2 separate regions of the Homo sapiens genome follow, and region 1 is linked to region 2. The links are contacts of gene promoters, found by promoter capture Hi-C in blood cells and fetal thymus (Javierre and others, 2016). All regions are on one chromosome and are shown on one strand. The core of a region is centred on a gene start or on the middle of the fragment in contact, and the rest is flanking DNA. Distances in the headings are between cores, read along the strand shown. Region 1 has its middle 11 kb from the start of KRT78. Region 2 holds the start of KRT1 (keratin 1).

Evidence for each region. Contacts are between HindIII fragments. The CHiCAGO score rates a contact against its expected background, and 5 or more counts as called.
Region 1: a fragment that was not itself captured here is called in contact with the fragment with the promoter of KRT1 in region 2 in 6 of 17 cell types (total CD4 T cells, naive CD4 T cells, naive CD8 T cells and 3 more); the score reaches 9.2 in total CD4 T cells.

The regions. Positions count from the first base shown.
Region 1 is chr12:52,858,585-52,861,284 of GRCh38, forward strand. No RefSeq gene overlaps it. Among named protein-coding and RNA genes, the nearest start is that of KRT78, 11 kb to the left of the region's middle. The HindIII fragment of the contact is 398 bases long and covers 1,146-1,543 here.
Region 2 is chr12:52,679,063-52,681,762 of GRCh38, forward strand. It overlaps KRT1 (keratin 1), which reads right to left and starts at 1,345. Exons shown (of 9, transcript NM_006121.4): 1 at 696-1,345. The coding sequence starts at 1,286. The HindIII fragment of the contact is 12,025 bases long and covers 1-1,885 here.

The sequences.
Region 1 (2,700 bases), core at 95-2,594, 180 kb after region 2:
AGTTCCTCCAAAGCCAGGAAGGGCAAAGATGAATGTGGCTATTCCCTGACTTCTAGCACCAATCTTGGCCTGTCAGGCAAGAGAGAAAGGAGGGAGCAGATTACAGAGTGCACCCCTTCTCTACCCCATACCCAGGCAGAGCACACTCTTGCATTCTCTGCCCCGGTACCCTCCTGCCTGCTGGGCTGCAGCAGGTAGCCCCCGCTCCCCTCACTGAACTGGCAGTGAAGGAAAGTGGCACCCACCCAGGCAATGGGTTCACTGCAACAGGGAAAGGGTGCCCCACAGGTAAGCCAAGCTGCTGCCTCTGCAGCTCCCCCATGCCCAGGTAGAGAGGCCCCGAAACCTACAAGGAGGGCATTCCTAAGGCAGAAACCCTGGAGAGAAAGGATTAGCAAAACATTGCCTGGGAGTCCAGAACTGAAGTATATGTCTCCAAGTTCCAAGTTGAGGGTGGGAGTGAGGGATGATGCCAAACTTTGGAATAATAATGGCCCTTTTACCCATGGTGGCTAACATGATCATGTTCTACAACACACTTTAAAAAATACTATTGGGGGCCGGGCGCAGTGGTTCACGTCTGTTATCCCAGCACTTTGGGAGGCCAAAGAGGGCAGATCACTTGAGACCAGGAGTTCAAGACCAGCATGGCAAACATGGTGAAACCCCATCTCTACTAAAAACACAAAATTAGCTGGGTGTGATGGCGCATACCTCTAATCCCAGCTATTCAGGAGGCTGAGGCAGGAGAATCACTCGAACCCCAGAGGTGGAGGTTGCAGTGAGCAGAGATCACGCCACTGCACTCCAGCCTGGGCAACAGAGTGAGACTCCATCTCAAATAAATAAATAAATAAAAATACTATTGAGAACTCTCTGAGTGCCAATCACTGTGCTGGGCCTGTGCAGATCCTTCATCTTCTTTTATCTTCACCACAATCTGAGATGTGGGTATTATTTTTCCTTGCTCTACAGACACAGAAATAAAGCAATTGTCCAAGATCTCAAAGATGGAAAGAGGCCAAGTTAGGATGAAAACCCAGATCTTCTAAACATACACCGCCCCAATAGTCTTCCCAGGAACACTGTACAGCCTTCATGTAGTATGTATATGTACATGTTTCCTGTATAACAAAGAGACCAGAAGCTTCCCTGGTGCTGGGGGCTATGGGGAGAGCCCAAGGGAGAGGACACCCGCTCCCACTCTGCTGCAACACACAGCACTCTGCTCAGGGATGGGGCAGTGGCGTGTTATTGTTACACAAGGGGCTCTCTGTCAGGGAGGGAAGATAAGTCTGTTCTGTAGTGTTTGCCATTTTCCGTGGTGCAAATATTCCATGGCTGATTTCAAGCTGCCACCATGATGTCACTGAATGCAGAGCTGGGAAGAGATGCACACAATCAGGTCTCCTGAGTTTGCTCAAGCAGGCCCAGCACACCATGGGCCAGGGGTGAAGAAAGGGAGACTGTCCCAGGCTGGGAGTCAGGAACACACATCCAGGAACAAACTGCTGGTGCCTGAGAGAGGAAGGGGATTGGACAAAGCTTCCAACTCTGGGGGACCCTGAGAGGGGAAGAGGGAAGTGTTCAGACAAGAACTTGAGTTGAGAGTCCAGACACACCCATCCAGGGCTTAGTACCCAGCCACTGCAACCCTGACCCAATCAGGTTCAGCCAGTTGGGTGCCCTGCTGCTAGCAACAGCTCCTGATTTGGCAAATATTATGAGGCCTGTTACTAAGGACAGCCTCCCAATACCCCAGAGGGTGAAGAGCAACTTCCAGGGGAAAGTTGCCAAGATTCTTACACCCTGAGGATGTTCAGTCGAAGCTGCAGCAGGAACTCCCGGACTGGGAGACAGGGTGGGGGATTACATGGACCAGCTCCCTCCCACTCAACCATCTCGCCAGCATCTCTCCCATGGCCATCTGAGTGCTGTGCCCTGGGTGTTGGAAGTAAGGTTCTGCCCGTCTTCAAGGAACTTCCATCTGAGAGGAGATCTGTATTTTCAAAACTGCAAGCTACAACCCACTAGTGGATTGTGAAATCAATTGCATGAGTCTTTACCAGCACATGAGTGTGCATCACAGGTAGTAAGGGTAATATTGCACCATGAAATTTTGTTTGGGGTGTGTGTGTGTGTGCGCGCATGCAGAACTGTAATATAAAATGAATTTATTATTAGAGATCACTGTTCAAAAAAAGTTTCAGAAATTCCCTGACAGAGGAAGTGGTACCCACACCCAAACACACACAAACCCAAGAAAATAAGACCAGAAACAGGAGCAGCGTTAGGTGTCAGGACTTGGGGATAGAACATAGAGGTTTAGTCTGGGAAACTTTTCCAAAGGAGAGAAGTAATGAAAAGCAGAGTTAGAAAAGGGAAACAAGAAACTGAGGCATCTCTCCCAATCTATCCTGGAAGGGAGAGGAAATTCTCTTAATATCTAATCTAATCCCTAAACCCGCTGATGTGCTCTTCCCTGAAGCCCACCTACTCCTCAAAAGGAAAACCCACAGGTCCCTCCTCCAGGTAACCACCTTTTCTGGGTCATGACAGTGACACAGCTGGTCGGGGCTAGGGAGGGTGGAGTGAGCTGGGCTCGGGGGCACAAACAGCGGCATGCTGGGCACAGCCAGGCAGGAGGGCCCAGCGCTGCAGGTGCTGGGGCAACACAGAACAATACCAGATTCATGCCTG
Region 2 (2,700 bases), core at 95-2,594:
CCATAAAAACTGGTTTGCATCCCCAGGACACACACACATTTCAAAAGTATATCAGGAAAATTCAAAATTGGATTTGAAATTTGTTGTGGATAACCTTGGATTGGCACTATTAATGATTAAGCAAAAAATTAAAAAAATGGTTTATCTGAGTTTTTTAGAGCTGATTTTTGGAGATATTAGTATAAAAAAACTCTAGCCTCATCCAGTACCAATGTAAAATTATTAGAAGGCAGAGCTCCCCTCTGACAGCAAAAGATGTTTGGCACTGACTGACCACATGTTTTCTGCTACAATAACACTCTATACTATGTTCACACTCAACTCCCTTTCTATGGTTAGGAAGACCTTTCCAGGGTTCTCACTTGCACCCTGGAAAGTTCAGTTAGCCCCATTTCTATTATCTTCATTCAACAGATATGAGTCCCAATTCCGCTCAAGAGCTGAATAAAAAGCACTTAAATGTTAATGTCACACTGACCCACCTTTAGGTCGACCACGAACCCTTTGTCAAAGAGAGAGTCATTAACACCATTCACAAGCATACATCTAACATATCTCCTAGGAGACCATTCCACAAAACATCCTTTTAATCATGTAAACATGGAAACTTGAGGTTCAAACCTACTGTGTTTTGACTGCACCAATCCCAAGTGGACCAGCGGCAGCCCTACCAGTGCAATGAGAGAGAAACTCACCTTGTCAATGAAGGAGGCAAATTGGTTGTTGAGTGACTTGATTTGCTCCCTTTCTCGAGACTTCACCTTTTGGATCTCAGGGTCAATCTCCACATTGAGGGGCTGAAGAAGGCTCTGGTTGATAGTGACTTCTTGTATGCCACCAGGAGGGCAGACAGGACCATAACCACCCCCATATCCACCACCCCCAAAGCCACCTCCACCAAAACCACCACCACCACTGCCAAAACCACCAAAGCCACCACCCCCAATGCCACCTCCACCAAAGCCACCACCACCAAAGCCACCACCACCAAAGCCACCACCACCATAACCACCACCAAAGCCACTACCACGTCCACCTCCTCTAGCCACACTTATGGAGATGCTTTTACTGCCACCAAGGTTAACAAGACTCCGACTTCCAAATCCACCACCAGCACCAAAGCTACCACCACCACCACCACAGCTTGAAAATCTCCCACCACCTCCTCCACTGCGGCGTGTGGAGCTGCTGGTGGTCCTGCGCTGGTAGTTGATGATCCCAGCAGAGCCAGAGCTGAAGCCCCCTCCACTTCGGTACCCAGACCTGGAACTAAACTGTCGACTCATGTTGACTTAGAGAAAAGTAGGAGCAAGGTAGAGTAAGGGAAGGAGCTAAACACTCCTCTACCCCAAGCATAGAGACTTCCCCTTATATACAGGGAAGAAATTGGGCTTGGTCTTCTAGAGTCAGCGGAGATGCAGTGCCTGTCAAGGGTTTGGCTTGCCTGCAGCCATACAAGATTTTTACGAGCCTCAACAATACGATAAACACTACACACCTAGCTCCCAGGATGGGCTCTCAAAATTGCTGTGCATGCAAGATTGGTTCATGTGGTAATTATTTTATCACACAAGATCTTCCTTCAAGCATTTGTGGCTTTGGGAAAACAGGACCCCACATCTGATACCTGGTGTTTCTTGGTAGGATTTCATAACCCCCATCAAAAAGGCATGAAAGTTTCTATTCTCACCTTGCCTTTGTGAGCTACCAAGCACACTCTCTTACCATGCACAGCAGGTGCAATTCCCCGTGCTTGGATCTCAGAAGGAGCTCTCTGGCCCATTTCTAAGATCTTCTTTCCAAACTCCAGAGCTCACTCAGTTACAACCTGACAAAGAGAAAGGGCTTTAATAACTAAAAAATTAAAAGGTCTTTCATAAATATAAGCTTTATAAATATACCACAGTGATTAATTAAAGGAAGAGAAGCTGTCATTGAACAAGATGGATGAGTGGGTGGTCTGGAAGAACCAGAAGGGAGAGACATTTTTTTTCTCTGTTTCTCAGTTATTCCTTTTCTTGTTTCTTTTCTTCAAAGATAGAGCAGGAGACAGACACCAGCAATAGAAAACAGGTAGCAATGGATAGCATGCAAACGCCCTTGAGTGAAAAAGCCCACAGAGCAGTGAGACGAGTAAATAGAAGCTCTAGGACATTTTGTAAAGCACAGGGGTGGAGGTGAGGCTTGATAGGTGATTCAAGCCTCACACTGGACTGCAAAGAGAGAGAGATAAATGCAGATTTGGAAGGGAAGACAATGAGAGGTGTCTGGAGAGCCTTATATGAGAAGTTTAAATTGTTTCTGGAGGTGATAATAATGATAATACCTAACATGTATCAAAAACTGACCATGTACCAGGCACTGTTCTACGTAGCACATATGTATTAACTTGCTTAATTTTCACAACTTTGAGATAGATGCTATTTTTCTCCCCATTTGTAAAATGAGGAAGCAGAGACACAGGGGTTGAATAACGTGATCAAGTCTACACAGTTGGTAAGTGGGGTGCCTGCGATTTGAAGCAAGAATACCTAGCTATCATGTGCAAGATCCTAAACAGCATGTTGTACGACAGCACAGCAGCCGAATTCAAGTCATTCTGCCTGCTGTGTGTAAAGCCAGACAGCACAGGAAGCGCCCCACCACAGAGAGCTCTGAGGGCAGAAGGCCTGTTTTATCACTCTGAGTCCTTGGCTCCTG